Regions from separate parts of the Homo sapiens genome. Here regions 2, 3, 4 and 5 are each linked to region 1. The links are contacts of gene promoters, found by promoter capture Hi-C in human tissues and cell types (Jung and others, 2019). All regions are on one chromosome and are shown on one strand. The core of a region is centred on a gene start or on the middle of the fragment in contact, and the rest is flanking DNA. Distances in the headings are between cores, read along the strand shown.

What was found. The method cuts DNA at HindIII sites, captures the fragments that hold promoters and counts their contacts. A contact is called where the count stands out against the background at its distance.
Region 2: the fragment with the promoter of YWHAE here is called in contact with the fragment with the promoter of SMYD4 in region 1 in 1 of the 25 tissues and cell types used here (bladder).
Region 3: a contact is called between a fragment that was not itself captured here and the fragment with the promoter of SMYD4 in region 1, in 1 of the 25 tissues and cell types used here (dorsolateral prefrontal cortex).
Region 4: a contact is called between the fragment with the promoter of INPP5K here and the fragment with the promoter of SMYD4 in region 1, in 1 of the 25 tissues and cell types used here (hippocampus).
Region 5: a fragment that was not itself captured here is called in contact with the fragment with the promoter of SMYD4 in region 1 in 1 of the 25 tissues and cell types used here (dorsolateral prefrontal cortex).

The regions. Positions count from the first base shown.
Region 1 is chr17:1,828,384-1,831,742 of GRCh38, reverse strand. SMYD4 (SET and MYND domain containing 4) reads left to right here and starts at 1,841. Exons shown (of 11, transcript NM_052928.3): 1 at 1,841-2,017. RPA1 (replication protein A1) reads right to left here and starts at 1,738. Exons shown (of 17, transcript NM_002945.5): 1 at 1,617-1,738. The coding sequence starts at 1,649. RefSeq lists an enhancer at 342-842 and a silencer at 1,470-1,989. The HindIII fragment of the contact is 28,265 bases long and covers 1-3,359 here.
Region 2 is chr17:1,398,416-1,401,774 of GRCh38, reverse strand. YWHAE (tyrosine 3-monooxygenase/tryptophan 5-monooxygenase activation protein epsilon) reads left to right here and starts at 1,553. Exons shown (of 6, transcript NM_006761.5): 1 at 1,553-1,728. The coding sequence starts at 1,665. RefSeq lists enhancers at 1-112, 1,055-1,692, 1,693-2,330, 2,331-2,968. The HindIII fragment of the contact is 19,322 bases long and covers 1-3,359 here.
Region 3 is chr17:2,221,280-2,224,638 of GRCh38, reverse strand. All of the region lies in intron 10 of SMG6 (SMG6 nonsense mediated mRNA decay factor), which reads left to right. Among named protein-coding and RNA genes, the nearest start is that of SMG6, 81 kb to the left of the region's middle. The HindIII fragment of the contact is 7,215 bases long and covers 1-3,359 here.
Region 4 is chr17:1,515,018-1,518,376 of GRCh38, reverse strand. It overlaps INPP5K (inositol polyphosphate-5-phosphatase K), which reads left to right and starts at 1,765. Exons shown (of 12, transcript NM_016532.4): 1 at 1,765-1,921. The coding sequence starts at 1,878. PITPNA (phosphatidylinositol transfer protein alpha) reads left to right here. Exons shown (of 12, transcript NM_006224.4): 12 at 1-659. PITPNA-AS1 (PITPNA antisense RNA 1) reads right to left here and starts at 1,458. Exons shown (of 2, transcript NR_028514.1): 1 at 1,284-1,458; 2 at 281-659. RefSeq lists a silencer at 1,380-1,679. The HindIII fragment of the contact is 13,245 bases long and covers 1-3,359 here.
Region 5 is chr17:2,086,528-2,089,886 of GRCh38, reverse strand. All of the region lies in intron 13 of SMG6 (SMG6 nonsense mediated mRNA decay factor), which reads left to right. SMG6-AS1 (SMG6 antisense RNA 1) reads right to left here and starts at 149. Exons shown (of 2, transcript NR_199038.1): 1 at 118-149. RefSeq lists enhancers at 18-97, 128-227, 248-347, 358-537, 1,899-1,948. The HindIII fragment of the contact is 6,247 bases long and covers 1-3,359 here.

The DNA of each region.
Region 1 (3,359 bases), core at 592-3,091:
CCTGTAGTCCCAGCTATTCGGGAGGCTGAGACAGGAGAATGGCGTGAACCCAGGAGGCAGAGCTTGCAGTGAGCCGAGATCGCGCCACTGCCCTCCAGCCTGGGCAACAGAGCAAGATTCCAGCTCAAAAAAAAAAAAAAAAGTTCAAAGGCCCCATGGAAGAAGGTAGGAGTATGGAATATACCAGAAATCTAAATTTAAAAAAAAATGTGGGGGTGACTGGAGAGGTAGGCTGAGAGTATGCTGTGGATGGGAATGGTGGCAGGAACGTATGCTGAGTGGAAGTCAGCAGCTCAGGCAAAAAAAAAGACGGTGCCAGTATGGATGGAGAGAAGCCAGTGGGCTTGATAGATCTACGCAGAGGCAAAATACACTTCACTTCGTGAGGGACTGGATGCCCAGGTAATGGACAATATAGGAGGAATGATTTCTCAATTTCTGGTTAGCACTGAACTGAATAGATAATGGTGCCATCCGTGGAGATAGGGATCAAGAGGCCCAGACTTAGAAAGATAAAGAATTTGCTTTGGGATACGTATACTGAACTTAAAACCCTCTGAAGCATGGAATAAGCAGACAGATGACGGAAGTTTGTCTTTTAGAGTAAAGGTGGCTCTGTACAAAGAAATTTGTGAGCAACTGACATATATTAATAGATGGCAATGGAATTGCCTTGGGGCCAGGCGCGGTGGTTCATGCCTGTAATTCCAGCATTTTGGGAGGCCGAGGCGGGCGGATAACTTGAGGTCTGGTGTTCGAGATCAGCCTGGCCAACATGATGAAACCCAGTCTCTAATAAAAACACAAAAAGTAGCCGAGTGTGGTGGCGCACACATGTAGTCCCAGCTACTCGGGAGGCTGAGACAGGAGACTCACTTGCACCCGGGAGACGGAGGTTGCAGTGAGCCGAGATCGCGCCTCTGCACTCCAGCCTGGGCGACAGTGAGTGTCGCCCAGGCTGGAGAAAAAAAAAGAAATTGCCTCGGGAGTCAAGAGGGCCTAGAGGGAGCCTTGATTCAACAAAAATTTACAAAGAGGGACTTACAAATAAGACGGGGATAGACCTGCCAAGCTGAGCCACTAAAAACCAAGGAAGAGGGTGTGACCTGAAGCAAGCAGGGCTTAAACGCAAACGCTGCTGAGAACTCAGGTAAGCTGAAAACGGAAAAGGGCTGGATTTAGCAACTTGGAGGCCACTGGTACCTTCAGCCAGGGTTTTCTACAGCGATCAAAGGGATGACTGGAGTGGGTTAAAGAGTTGATGAAAGGCGAGGAAAGGAAGTGGCTGAAACCAGACAAGAAGTTTGGCTGTGGGTGGGGAAAGGAGAAGAGACAGAAAGTGTCCGCAGGTGGAAGATGCAGAGAAAGGCAAGCGTTTATTTAGTTTGTTCTTACGTAGGAAAAATGTGAGCATGTTTTAAAGACGATCGAAAGAATGCTTTGAGGAGGGGGCGATGACACTAGAGGGACGCCCGGCGGGTCCCCACCGCCCCCCGCCATCTCCTCCCCTCGCGTTCATCCCCCGTCGCCCCGGGCTCCCCTCCCCCTCTCTACTCCGCGAGGCTCGGGGCCGCAGCCACCCCGGACCGCCGGCCCAGCCCCCGGCACCTCCTCACCGCAATGGCCCCCTCGCTCAGTTGGCCGACCATGGCTCCACCGCCAAGACTTCCCCGCGGACCCCGCAACAGCTCCAGCTTCCCCACCCGGGTCCCGCGCGCTGCGCAGTTATTGGCCCGAGAAGTTGCGCGCACCGCTCCCGCCCCCGACGTGCGCGCGGCTCAGGGGCGGGCCCGGGCGCTACGCAGCCGCCGCATTGGCCGAGGCGCGGCCCACGTGACCCACCCATGGTCCCAAGCGAGGCCTGGCGCGGGACGCCGGACGCGGTGCGGGGCGGAGCGGGGCGCCAAGGGGCGCGCCAGGAGCTGCGCGGGCGCTGGGAGGGAGACCAGGGCGCAGTTCCGGGCGCGTCTGAGCGGTTCTCGAGGCGTTCTCGCCTCGGTCTCTGGCGAGTGCACGGGTTGGTATCCCAGAGGAGGTTAAAGCTGTTCCTTGAGACCTCCGCTGCTAAATAGAGTCGCAGTAGTGACCCGATTCGTCCAGCAACGCGGGGCTGACTTCCCGCCTCCAAGCCCTGAGCTTGGCACCGTGGCGGTGGGGGGTGGGGGTGGGGGGTCTCCGAAAGGGAATCAGACCCGGCCCCCGTCCTTAGAGAAGAGGACAGTGTGTGGGGGCACTTTATGCCGTCAGTAACCCCACCTCCAGGTAGACGTGGTACAGGCCCCAAGGGTGTTGGAATCACAGCTGGGAAATCAGGGACGCCGTCCCGGAGGAGGTGCCATTTGAGCCGAGTCGAAGAACGTGTGGGAATTTTCCAGGTGGACTCCATAAGCCAGGGTAGGGTTGGTCCGGAAAGCATGAGTAGCCTATGCCAAAACATTGGAGAGTTGAAATAGCCTGGCAAGCCGGGGATAGCAATGAGTTGTTCAGTATGCAAGGGTGCATGCAGAGGAGTAAGTGACACCTGAGAATTAGAAAGTCAGACAAGGGTCAAGTAAGGATGGTTTTGTCCTGGGCTTCCTGGTATGCTTGGAGTAGCGTTGATGAATTTAAGGGCAGAGCACTGACTTCTGTCTCAGTGTTGGAGGCTGGATTGAAAGTGGGGAGTGGTGCCAATGGCATGGACATTAATTATAACACTCTAGGAAGAATGCCAGACGAGATGGTGAGGACTTAATCAGAACGCTGAACTATGTAAGAGAGGGAAATACCTTGTTAAATGAATAGTTGCTGGGGTGGGTGAGAAAGAAAAATCTGGGATGTGTCTCAGAGAAACTAGAGAGGGATCAGGCCGGGCGCGGTGGCTCACGCCTGTAATCCCAGCGCTTTGGGAGGCCAAGGCTGGCGGATCATCTGAGGTCAGGAGTTCGAGACCAGCCTGGCCAACATGGTGAAACCCCGTCTCTACTAAAAATACAAAAATTAGCCGGGCGTAGTTGCGCGCATCTGTAATCCCAGCTACTCGGAGGCTGAGGCAGGAGAATTGCTTGAACCTGGGAGGCGGAGGGTGCAGTGAGCCGAGATGGTGCCACTGCACTCCAGCCTGGGTGACAGAGCAAGACTCTGCCTCACAAAAAAAAAAAAAAGAGGATCTAAGAGCACAGATGGTAGCTATCTAGTCTGCTTCGTCTTTGTATAACCATCACCTGCATGGTGCCTGTGACAAAGTAGTCTTTCAGTAAATATTTCTGAATGGAAGGATGTTGAGTGAATTGCTGTGAGAAAATATAGATCCTTCCTTAGCATATAAACTAGAGGAAAAGACCACAAGAATTGATTTTATTGTTTCAGGCTTCCTTGAA
Region 2 (3,359 bases), core at 304-2,803, 430 kb after region 1:
GCCCAGGCTGGGCTCAAGTCATCCTTCCGCATGGGCCTCCCAAGCGCCAGAAGCTGAAGCAATGTTCACTGAGTTATTCCTGCCTCCACAATCTTTATTTGATCTTGGTCCAACTCTTCTGTACCATGTACTCCACACCACCCTCATCTAACAAATTCCCTGCTCCTATTCATAGTGGGCCTAGGGAGGGAAAAAGGTTAAACAGGAGAAGACAAAGATCAGTGTGAGGGGAAAGTTGAGGCGTGAAAACTGGAGCTCCCCTGTCCCTGACAACTGTAACAGGGCCCAGTTCGTTTTTTTTCTTTTTCTTTGTTTTGAGACAGAGTTGTGCTCTTGTTGCCCAGGCTGGAGTGCAATGGTGTGCTCTCGGTTCACTGCACCCTCCCACTCCCGGGTTCAAGCGATTCTCCTGCCTCAGCCTCTGGAGTAGCTGGGATTACAGGCATGCACCACCACGCCCAGCTAATTTTTGTATATATATATAATTTTTCTTTTGAAACACAGTCTCACACTGTCGCCTGGGCTGGAGTGCAATGGGAGGATCTCGGCTCACTGTAACCTCCGCCTCCCGGGTTCAAGAGATTCTCCTGCCTCAGCCTCCTGAGTAGCTGGGATGACAGGCATGCACCACCATGCCAAGCTAATTTTTTGTATTTTTAGTAGAGACGGGGTTTCACTATATTGGCCAGGCTGGTCTCGAACTCCTGACCTTGTGATCCTCCCGCCTTGGCCTCCCAAAGTGCTGGGATGACAGGCATGAGCCGCCGCGCCCGGCCAGGGCCCGGTTCGTTACCCTGAGTCTAAAAGTGTCTGAAAAAGGCCCATGACCAGGCTTGGCCGAGAAAACTAGGACGTGGGCTGGGCGCGGTGGCTCACCCCTGGAATCCCAGCGCTTTGGGAGGCCGAGGGGGGGCGGATCATCTGAGGTCGGGAGTTCGAGACCAGCCTGGCCAACATGGTGAAACCCCATCTCTATTAAAAATACAAAAGCTGGGGGTGGTGGCGGGGGCCTGAAATCCCAGCTACTCGAGAGGCTGAGGCAGCAGAATCACTTGAACCCGGGAAGGCGGACGTTGTGGTAACCCGAGATCGCACCACTGCACTCCAGCCTGGGGAACAAGAGGGAAACTCCGTCTCAAAAAGAAAAAAGAAAAAAGAAAAAAGAAAAGAAAACCAGGGCGCGGTAGTGACAGCCTCAGATTTCGGGAAAGAAGACCTGCCATGACAGAAACCGTTACAGCCTCCGTCGTTCTTTTCCGCAGGTCGGGCCTCGGGCCCCGGTCTGACCCAGGTCTCTCGCTGGCTTTTTTCAGGAGCAGTCCCGGCCGGCCCCGCCTCAGCCCTTCTCGTTCCCCGGGGGCCGCTCCCTTTCGGCAGTCGCAGTTCCCGCCTCTGGGCTCCGGCGCCCGCTGAGCCGACAGAGGAGAGGCGTCTCGTGCGCTCGTTCCAGCCGCTTCGGGCGCCGAGTTCCAGGACCCGCCCCCCGCGCCAGTTGCCAGGGAGCGGTTGCCATAGAGCTGAGCAGTTGTCCGCGTGCGCAGGCGGAAGTCCCGGATTGAGGCGCCGCCATTTTTGCTGCCCGGACGCGGAGCGAGAGGCTGAGAGAGTCGGAGACACTATCCGCTTCCATCCGTCGCGCAGACCCTGCCGGAGCCGCTGCCGCTATGGATGATCGAGAGGATCTGGTGTACCAGGCGAAGCTGGCCGAGCAGGCTGAGCGATACGACGGTGAGTTGGGGGGGCAACGGGGGGCTGGAATTCTCGGACCCTCTGCCGCCGCCCACAGAGGCCGGGAACAGGAGACAAAATGGCGGCATCGTCTGCGAGCCTGGCCCGGGGGCTTGGGTTCGGGAAGCAGGAAATGGCCTGGGAGCTCCCGGGGCGATGGGAGGCTCTATGCCCTGGAATGTGACCCCTTCGCCGTCCTTAACTGCAAACAACTCGCGGGCCGGGAGGCCGGGGCGACGGGGTGGAGGAGTTGGTTGTAAAATGGCGGCTGGGGGGAGGGCGAGTCCCGGGGCGGGGGAGGGGGAGGAGATGGCGGGTGCTGTCTCCGAACGAGCCACCCTCATGGGAGCTTCTGGGACGGCCTTGGGATGTGGAGAACAATTGGGTGGGGTGACGGGGGAAGCAGCACCCGCCACATGGGAGAGAGCGAAGACCGGGAGCTGTAGCGCGGGCGCCTTTCAGGGAAATATGGCGGGTGGGGGCGGTGGCTTTTCCCCGGAGGCCCCGTGTGGGGCGGCGGCCGTGGAGTCTCACAAAGGAGGACCTTTGAGAGCGATGGGCTTCCTCAGGCCTGAGGTGGGGGACAGTCGTGGATGATGGTGGGGGGAGAGGGGTGAGTGGGAATCACTGCAGTTCGTCTTCGGGCGGTGGCAGGCTCCCATGCTGCGATCGGGTTTCTTTCCCGTAGGCCGGCACCTCGTAGTGAGGGGTTTCGGGGCTTTTCCTCCTCGTCGTCTTCTGGGGAGGCCCAGAAAATCCTCACTCCCTCCCTTTCCTCAGACTTAAAACAGGAGATCTCGAAGTTCCTGTAACCTTTCTCTGGCTCCATCACCCGTGGGTTCTGATGGATAGAACCAGGAGGCCACGACTCTGAGAGTTCGAGCCTTTGTAGAGCCCGAGCCTCCGTCCCCCCGTTTGTAAAAACGATGACTTTACAGTTTGTGCGCACCGTGATGACAAATGGGAAGACCTGTTGAAATAAAGTTATTTCCAATAGTGTTCAGTAACTGTATTTTGGTTGACTCTGCAGGCTCGGAATGCTGGTCTGTACTTCGTGGGGGATCTTAACCTATTCCAGGCGCTCGGCTGAGGCTGGGTTTTTTGAGTTATGAAGGTTGAAGATCCTGTTGCTTTCTTTTTTTCCGTTTTAAATAAATGGGTTTATGTAGAAATATTAGTAGGTCCTCTTTGTTCGTTGTTCTTTTGCCCCTAATGGGTTCTCCAGTCCTTTTTCAGAACTTCATCGAATGTCCATTGTGTCTGTCCAGTCATTGTCAGGAAGTTTATTCTTAATCCTCTCTCCCAGTCCACCTTTTGGACCACCTTTTGAAATACCCACACATTTATAATTGTGCGATACTGTAGTATTAAACGAAAGGTCATGTCTGTGGGTCCTGTGGTTTTAATGCTTTTGCGTGGTAGGGTGGGGTGAGACATGGTTGGAATCAAGTATCTTTGATTCTTAGATTTTTTTCCTAATTAAAATACCTATATTTCAAAATGTTAGGGCCCTTGCTTTCCTCGAAATGCGGATTTAGTCATGTGAATAACCTCAGGGTTAGTCCCCCTTATCATCAGAAATAAGATTCAGGGATTTGAAAATAAGACAAGGCCTCTAGAACTCATATTTA
Region 3 (3,359 bases), core at 599-3,098, 390 kb before region 1:
ACCCTGATAAGACATACATCAGGCTTAGTTTTTGATGTCTCTTAAACCTTTCTTTGATTTTTCTGACTCCCTTCTTTTTGTGCTACATTCCAGATAATTTCCTTAACTATCTTTCAGTTCATTGAACCTTTCCATAGCTATATCTAACCTTCTATTAAATATGCCCCATTGACAATGTTTTTAATTTTAATAAATTTTTTATTTCCATATATTTTTTAAATCAAATCTGCTTTGACTTTCTTTATGGTTTCTTATTTCCCAAATATACTTGTGAGCTTGTCTTTTATTTCTCTAAAATATATTCAACATGGCATTTTAGAGACTCCATAATCTGAAATGGTGTATTTGGGGTGTAGCCTTGTGGGACCCTAGCTTTATGATAAGGATCTTGGCTGTGTCCATGCAGCCTTGGAAAGCAAAGCTCGAGTTCATCAGGTAGCAAATGTTCTTAGGGTAAAGGCTGTTTGTAATGCCACACTTACCTATCTGGTTTCCCATCTTTATTCAATCTCTGACCAAAGGATTTTCTTTTATTTTACTAGCTCACGAATGCTTTTCAAAAAGATGTTTAACATACTCTTTTTTTCAGAATAATGAGCTGTTTGATTGGGAGAATGGATCTAGGTGTCTAGTCTGCCGTACTACCAGAGGAAGCTGGGATTTCCTTGTTCCATCAGACTTACTCAGACTTTCTTTCTTTTCTTTTCTTTTTTTTTGCTCTGCCTGTGATGCCCATGAGCAGTGTGACTGGGCACCTACATCCAGGGTGGCAAGGGCATGTAGTTTGCTCTTCCAAAGATTAGTTTCTTTTCCAGCTCCTGCCCATTTACAGCTCAGTCTTATGGCAAATGGTGTCATTGGGCTCACATTTTTTCATTTTTCCAAGAGGTGTCCAGTGTATAGAATATCACTTAGAGGGCTAATTGGGTGGGGAAGAAAGATCAAAGGAGTGGAGAGGAAAGGCTGCAGCTGAAGTGATAGGAGCCATTTATTGACAAAAAGATGTGAGTTAGAGATTTGGAAAAGAGTACTCTGTTGTTTCAGCTACATCACATTATATATCTGGTGAACCTTGCTGGCCCATGAAATCCTTTCCATTAGTCAGGGTTCTCTGTGCTTTTGTTCTTGACTACTGCTGTTCTTAGTGCTATTCGGTTTGCTTGTATGTCTCAGTTTCCTTTTCAGAAGGCAGATTGTCGTCTATTTAGGAATGCATTTACTGTAATTGGAGTGTTCTGGCTTGTTTAGTCCCCTCTTCAAATATAAGACTCATATCTTGAAGCTTATGTTCAGAAAATATGCGCGTGTGATCCCTTTGCCCCAAGTGCCAACAGCAGATGTAGCAGTTGACACGCTGCAGGGAATTTCCAACTGCTGGGCAGGTTTCTGAAATCCGGACACGTGCTGTTCACACTTTGGCTTCTGAGGCAAGGATCAGTGGTTGAAAGAGGGGAGGAGCTGGCAGGGGACTGCAGGGAGAAAGATCTTATAATGCCTGCCCAGGGCTTTAGGCTGTGTCAGCTTTCTGCATCTCTTCTCCAGCTGGAGCTGGCAGGGTCGAATAAATCACTGCAGAGTAGTTATGAGCCCAGCTCACCAGGGACTTCTTTGAGGCACACCTGTGACGTCATCCTGTTATCACTGTCTGTTCCACATAACCTCTTTTCACCTCTCCCCTGAGAGAGGGTGATGCCCAGAACTCATGTCAGGGCAATGAGCAGAGGAAAATGTTTCGTAAGTATTATTTTTCAGATGCCTGCTAGGGATACAGTTGTAGGCCATTGACACATTCTTCAATATTCCTCATTGGAAGAGAAAACCTGTGTTTGCAAACATGGCCTGAATACCCCTTGTGGATAAAACTTCTTTTTAAACTTGGAAAGAAAGTCTTGAAACTCCTAAGTGGTCTCTTTTTGTACCCCTTACCTCTCTCGTTCCTTCCCAAACATGCACACACAGACACATTACATACAGAGTCTGCTGTGTTCAAAATCCTTCACTGACTTCCCATTTCACTCAGTGTAAAAGCCACATTATTTACAAGGCCTTCATATATGGACCTCTTCTCCTGCCCCCCCCCCCCCCCCCCGCCCCCGCATTGCCTCTCTCTGAGCTCATTCACGACTGTTCTCCCCATGGCTTGGTTACTCTGCTTCAGCCACACTACCCTTCTTGCAAGTTCTCTGCTAAGCTGGGGACTCTCCCACCTTTGGCCCTTCGCATTAGCTGTTTTCTCTGTTTGGAATGTTCTGCATCCAGCCATCTGTCTGGTGAATACCTCGCCTCCTATAAGTCTTTGCTTAATGTTACTTCTGTGAGACCTGCCCCAACCATCCTATTTAACACTGCTGCATTCTACTCCAAACCTGCACTCTTTATCTTCCAATTCTATTGATTTATTTTCTAAATACTAGATAATTAATGTGTATATGTTTATTATTTATTTTCCTCTACTATTCTGCAAGAATGTAAGCTCCCTGCTTATAGGGGTCTCTGGTCTGTTTTATCCACTGATACATTGTGAACATCTAAAACAGTCCCTGACCTGTTGTAACTTCTCAGTAAACATGCGTTATATCAAGTTCAAGTCAAAGAATAATTTGAGGCCAGGTGCCGTGGCCGACGTCTGTAATCCCAGCTCTTTGGGAGGCCAGTGCAGGTGGATCACTTGAGCTCAGGAATTCAAGACCAGCCTGGCCAACATGGCGAAACCCTGTCTTTACTAAAAAATACAAAAATTAGCCAGGCATGGTAGTAATCCCAGCTACTTGGGAGGCTGAGGCAGGAGACTGGCGTTAACCCGGGAGGTGGAGCTTGCAGTGAGCCGAGATCACCCCATTGCACTCCAGCCTGGGCAACATTGCAAGACTCCGTCTCAAAAAAAAGAATAATCTGTCAGCAGGTCAGCCTGGACAATGAAGATTGAATGGCAAGGGCAGGGGCATCTGTTAACTAGGTTACTGCTCATAATCTTACTGTCTTTCCTTGTTTTTTGTTAAGGTGACTTTCTTGAAAGCATAATTTCCAAATGCATATTTTACATCTGGCATTAAAGTAAAATCCATTAAATGTGCTTTGGTATCTACTGTTGTATTAATCCTTTCTCATACTGCCATAAAGACATACCTGAGGCTGGGTAATTTATAAAGAAAAGAAGTTTAATTGGCTCATAGTTCCACAGGCTGTACAGGAAACATGGCTAGGGAGGCCTCAGGAGAATCACAATCATGGTGGAAGGCAAAGAGGAAGGAGGCACGTCTTCCATGGCTGGAGCAGGAGGAAGAGAGTGAAGGGGGAGGGGCTACAGACTTTAAAACAACCAGATGTCCCGAGAGCTCCATCAGGAGATAGCACCAGGA
Region 4 (3,359 bases), core at 516-3,015, 310 kb after region 1:
AAAGGTTCAGCTCCAGGGGTAGTACCTGAGTGTGTGCCATGCCCCTTCAGACCAGCTGCTTCCATCAGAATTCCAGGGTCACAGCCCCAACAGAAGCAGCAGTGCCTCTGTAGGAGGGGTGCTGGGCTCTGGCCTTCTCATGCAGAGAGGTCCGGGACAGGGTCAGTATCGTGGGCATGTGTATAGCTTCCCAAGTTCTTTTACAGTCCCTGCTGGGACTCCCTGACTTACTTTGGTTGGTTCCTAGTGCTACTTGTTTTACAAACTACACTTTGTAGAATTGATTAGATTACCTTGTTTATTTAATGTGAGTTTGTGCCTTTTTGTCTCAATCTTCCAATACAGGTATATTGAGAAAAAAAGCAGTCTAATAAAATCCTAGACAGAACTTTCTGGAGTCCAGTTTGGTGATGTCCATTTTCCAGCTGTATGTATCCTCAAACTTGCACTGATAACCGCCATTTTACCAGGGCAGGATTAGGAAGAGGTACAAAGGTGTGTCTGAAAATTTTTGCACGTGGATTTCTGCATATAATAGTCCCGTGTCAGTTTACTTATGCAAACATTGCACATCTGAATTGTAATTCGGCCGTTTCCTACTGACAGGATGTCCTTTTGCTTTTGTCTGCCTCCTCTTCACATCTTCCTCTTTATCCACCCTACCAAACAAGCAAAACATTTATTTAAAGTAGTTTTAGGCCGGGCGCGGTGGCTCACACCTGAAATCGCAGCACTCTGGGAGGCCGAGGCGGGTGGATCAGCTGAGGTCAGGAGTTCGAGACCAGCCTGACCAACATGGCGAAACCCCATCTCGGCTAATTATTATTATTATTTTTTTTTTTTGAAACGAAGTCTCGCTCTGTCGCGCAGGCTGGGGTGCAGTGGCGCAATCTCGGCTCACTGCAACCTCCACCTCCCGGGTTCAGGCGATTCTCCTGCCTCAGCCTCCCGAGTAGCTGGGATTAACAGGCGCGCGCTATCAAGCCCAGCTAGCTTTTGTGTTTTTAGCAGAGACGGGGTTTCACCATGTTAAGGCCAGGCTGGTCTTAAACTCCTGACCTCAAGTGAGCCGCCCGCCTCGGCCTCCCAAAGTGCTGGGATTACAGGCATTGAGCCACCGCGCCCCGGCCTACGTTTCATTTATTGACGGCTAATTCTGTAGGAGTCCAGGAATCCCCAAACGTCCCATATGCAATAGGTAATCCAATAAGTTTGGAGTAGAAGCCTGAAAGTGGGCGTGGAGAACGGAGGCGCTCCCGCAGTAGCAGGAATGGGGAGATTACCTGCAGCCGGGGGGCGGGGGAGACCGGATCCCAGGCAGGACAGTGGCTAGGCTGCGTGTCCCCACCCCCGACCCTCGTTTGACCCCTGGGAGCCGGGGCGAAGACAGCACAAGGACGGAGCCCTCGGATCCCTCACGAGTGGGGCAGAGGCTGCGGCGGCGGCGAAGAGACAACTTCCGCCGGAAGACGGCCCCTGGCGCGGGGCACGCTGGGAGCTGCGGACGGCGGGCGCGGGCTGGGCCGGGTCTAGTGGCGGCCGCACACCTCGCGTCGTCTGGGGCAGTGTTGCGCGTGCGCTGATGACAGGCCCGACACGCCCCTCTTACGTCCGCGAACCCGTCTTCGCTCAGCCTCTCGCAGCTTTGCGCTCGTGGGAGAGTCCCGCCTCCTTCTGCGAACCGCACCACCCAGATCCCGGGGTGCGCGGAGGGCGCGTCTCTGACGGAAGCCGGGGCGGACGGTCGGAGTCCGGAAGAAAAACAGTCCGCGACAGCTAGGCGCGTGAGACCGGCCGCCCGCAGGGCTGCTCTGGCCGGGACCCGCTGGCCGGGAGACGCGAACCTGCCGGACCACCGCGCGGGGACGACGGCGGCCATGAGCTCGCGGAAGCTGAGCGGGCCGAAAGGCAGGAGGCTCAGGTGAGGGCACCCTGGCGGCAGAGGCAGGCCTGCTCGGGGGGATCGGCGCCCCTTGGGCTGCGGGCTGGGGGTGGACAAGGCACCAGACCTCCATGACTGCCTTTGGTTCAGAGGCGCTCTCGCCTTCTCCCACGCCTGTGTCAGGTGGGCTGTGTTGGGCCCGAGCCTCGCGCCCCCTCTAAGCCGAGGCCGCCAAGCTCGTTCCCACTGGGGCGCAGCAGGTGTCCCGGTTGCTTTCTGGAGAGGACAGCCGTGTGGGGTTGTTTGAGGTTAAAGACATAACGAGGCCGTCACCCTTCGGCTCTCGGTTAGAAATCTTTTTCCTACTTTTCATCAGCACATACATCAGGAGGTCTGCCTGATCCCATGGTGAACCCCGGGAATCCGAAATCAGATTGAGATAAGATCCTTTAGGGAAGTGACTTAGCCTGGTCTCTTGCCTGCTCTTTCACGGGGAACAACGCTAATCGCCCACTTAGTCTAAGTCACGATGCTTGGATTTGCTGCTAATCGTCGGATTTGAGAGTGGGAACAAGAAATCCGGACTTTTGCTCTCCATCCTCTTAGAGTGAGTCTGGGAAAAGAAGTCTCTGAGTAAAAGGTCTTTGTTCCTTAAGCCTCTGTCGGACAGCAGGGGGAGATCGTAAACAAATGAAGCTCAAAATCTCAGGCCGAGTGCCTGGGAAGGTGGTTTCTGTATAGTGTTGTTTATGCTAACAGGGAGGGACAGGAAGTTGCTTTAAACTGGCCAAGAATTTCTTGAAGTGCTTTTGAGAACGTCGACCTCTAAGGACGGGGTCTGTTGGAGGAGAGATGTTTTGGCATTAACTGCCCTTTTCTCCCATCCCCCTGTACCCTCTGCCATTCCAGATCTCCAGCTGCTGCAGGTACTCCTCATCGTGTGCCTAGGACTCATGCTAGGCTGTTCCTGGTCTCTGCAGGGTCTGTAGCTCCTGCCCGCTCTGTGCTCCGCACAGTCTGAGGCTTCTTGAAGAGCTGCTGTGACTGACTGTTCCACTAAAGACATCTGTAGGTCTCTCTTTCCTGAGCCTCTGACTGGATCCAGTGTCATTGAGGCCCCTTATCTAGTTTTCTTGCTTCCCTAAGACTTGTAAGCTGAGGTGGAAAATATCCAACTGATGACTTTTCCCCAGAGAGTACTCTTTATTTTTCACGGAATACTACGCAGACATAGAGCATAGACTCTTAAGAGAGATGTCGAGAAACCTGTTACTTAAAAACTCCTTGGCCGGGCGCGGTGGCTCAGGCCTGTAATCCCAGCACTTTGGGAGGCTGAGGCGGGCGGATCACCTGAGAGATCAGGAGTTCAGGACCAGCCTGGCCAACATGGTGAAACCCCGTCTCTACTAAAAATACAAAAGTTAGCCAGATGTGGTGGCACACACCTGTAATCCCAGCTACTTGGGAGGTTGAGGCA
Region 5 (3,359 bases), core at 302-2,801, 260 kb before region 1:
TCTTTACTTCTCCACCTCTCCACCTTAAATACCCCAGAACAGTAACCCAGTCTACTCTCTTGACCTAGAGGTTTTCTCCTTTGTTCCTCGCTCCCCTTGGCTCCAGCCCCTACTTACCCGATGCTTACATTATCTCTCTCTAAGGAACTGAGCCTAGGAGAGAACAGCCTCCGGTATCGCCTCTCCACATCTCACTTTCAGTTTTCCTTTCTGCTTGGTTCTTTGCGTGTGGACTTGATTAGAGTGATAACTGGAGCCCTAAAGCTAAAGGTTTCAGTTCCTGCTGCAGTGGTAAGCTGCCTCCGACAATCTTCAGGGGAAGGGAAAGGGGCTTTCTTTCAGCTCTTCCCTGACCTAAAGCCCCAGTTTTCTTTCCCAAGCTGATTGAAATGATTTGTATGTGATATTTTGTCAATTAACTTGGGAATTCTTGACAATCGCCTACACAGTGCATCTCCCTCCAGAAGGGTCAGGACTGTGACTGAGAAGGTACACCGCAGAGGAGAGGTCCGTAGGCTCCCCAGGGTGTTCCCTGGCTGGCGGCCCTTTTAGTCGCCTCTATCCCCAGTCCAGCCCCACGTGCTAATGTAGCCCAGGAAGGGAGCCTCTCCCGCCCAGCTCTTTCTCCTCTGGAGGATCCAGAGTTTGCCCCCAGAGCTGCGATATACATGCCACTTACATTCTCTGGTTTTCATTGATATAGAGTGGAAAAATGTGCTCACGAGCAGAGTTAACTGTGGGGATGATGTCACAGACTTCATCTGGAGTCCTTCCTCTCCAAGCAGGGAGTCCAGCTTTAACCCCTCTCCTACCAGGAAGTCCTCCTAGACCAAGCAAAGATCATCTTGGAATTGGCTTTTTGTCAGTGGTTTGAAAGGCTTCTTTCATTATGAAGTCTCTTATTAACTGTATTTAAACTGTCTTGTGTTGCTTTTTCCCTGACTCAAGTGCTGGAGGCTTTGTCTAGGAGAATATTCCCGTAAGTCTCCTACAGAACTCCAGCATCAAGAGAGCGGTGGTCCTCTCCCCAGTGGGCTTATTCCCCCCAAGTTAAGACAGAATGCTTTTGCAGACAGGCCAGTGAGCTACAGACAGAAGGTTTCTCTGTGCCTCTGGGCAAGCCCTGGACATTCTGCCTCTCAGTTTCTCCATCTACTAAAGAGCTCAGACTGTGCACTTCTCACTCCCACAGTACACTTTACACAGCTTTGACCATCCTCCCTGCTGCTTGGATTGCAAAGGACAGGGTACTCTTCCAAAAGACAGACAACCTTTCTCTCTCCAAACAGGTAGAATCCTTTCCAGGCCTGTTAACACCAGGTCAGAGACCCCAGTAGATCACAGCCTTTTGCATATCAGCCAGCAGTTGTCCTTGTCCTAGAGAAGGAACTAATAGCTATGACAGACACAATCCCCAAGGAAACCAATTTCCTTCTAAATGGGGCGGAAATGAAAACTGGGAGAGGGCTACTCCTCGTTGCTTGTGTCCATGGAATAGGCAATTCCCACAGACCCTGTAAGGAAGTGCTGCAGGTGGCCTCAGGATGTCCACATCCCTGGGTCCTGCTGTGCCCTGGAAATCCCCATCTCCAGGAGTCCCACATCCACACATGTGGCTTTTCTCCCTGTCGGCCAGAAACCATGCTTTCTTAGCCACGCAGCATACCATGTAGCCCGTGCTCTAGCAGCAGCAACACTCCTGCCCGCCTGTCTGTGCATGTGTCCGTGGCACACTCCTGTCCTGGGCAGGTTTCCTCTGCACACTTAGCAGGGGTGCCAGTGTACCTCTCATCGTCCAGGTGAGGCCAAGGACAATTGCAAGCTTTTCCTCTGTCCTCTTCTCACTCCTTAGCTCCCCTCTCCTCTCCATTCAGTGGCAGCAGCCTCACACCAAGAAGGAAAATCCTGGACCCATTACATAATTCTCCATAGTGCAAGCAGTAGCTGGGGCGTAAGGTCAGAGGTCATAGTGGGGTCAGGTGGCTGACACACACTGTAACGACAAGGTGGTTAAAATTAGACCACAGAGAGGAAACTGGCAGTCTTGTGGAAATGCAGAAGTTTCCTATGCAAGTGAGAGGCTGGAGATGCAGGGAGGCCACTGTGCGTGCTGCCTGCCAGGCTATTACTCATTTCGGCTCTGTTCTTTAATGCCTTTTAGCCCCTGCTTCTGTATTTCTAGCCTTCCTCATCACATGTTTGAATACACGCAATGGAACCAGGCTTACCTGCCCTGGGCCAAGACAAGCTTCCCTTCTCCTTCACGGAGGCAAGCCCAGGACCAGGCACCCCAAGCTCAAGGGGCTGAACTTTTTCTAAGCCCTTCTGGGTAGCCGAGAACCTTCTACATCAACCTCTCAGGTGAAGGTGGTCAAAGTACTTAGCTTGAGATTCCAGCCTATAATGGTAACAGGGCCAATGGTGAGAGAAAGCAGAGAACACTCCTAGACCGTGTAGGAAAGCGGGGTTGGCTTTTTGGTGAAGGTGGCAGAGGATGCAGCCACAGAGCACACAGTTGACCGGTGTGTGCCGCACTTTCCTGGGCAGCCAGCCTGCACAGCGGTGCTCATTTATTTCCACTGTCTTAGAGAACATGGGTCATGCCTGCTTCATCTGCTCTCTGTGGTACCCAGCCGAGCTTCCCTGGGCTGTCCGTCTTTACTGTGAGCCTACTGTGTGCACAGCTTGTCCTTACAATTCTTGCCAGTGACGTACGAAAACGATGAGATTTAGGCTTTGCCACCAGAGGGGTTGCTGTCCACATGAGAGAGAGAACACCTGCACCTGTAAAATGATCATCAGTAGTCTCCAGGTTAGTACTTCCCTATGTGCTGCAGATAGAAGGCTTATTACTGTGAAGTTCCTTTCACACTAAGAAACGAGGATGCATTAAAAGAGAGGCAGGGGCTAGTCAGTGAGGATGAAGGGGCCGTCCCCTGTGGCACGTCTGGCCACGGACGTGTGTTTCCCATGTGGAATGGCCTTCAGCTTTCAAGCTCCAGATCCAGCAGGGCCCCTCTCCCTTGGTGAGCACTCAGCCAGTAGGGAGAAGAGGATGCTGGAGGCTAGAGATGAAGAGAAGGGCACACAGGGGCAAGCATGGAGGAGAGTGTGAGCCAAGCAAACGGGTGTGGAGGAGAGGGCATGCAGGTGTGGTGCCTCCAGAAGGGGGGCCCAGACTGGGGGACGGTGGACACTTAATCTGAGACACTTACACATTTGACTGTTGCTCAAGATACTGAGTTTCATCTCAGCTAAATCAGCCCAAGCTTCTCTGACAGCACTGACTTGTGTGCTGATGTGGCCACATGGGAGCAGGTTGGCGTAAACGTCAGAAAGAGTATAGCTTTGGTGAAACA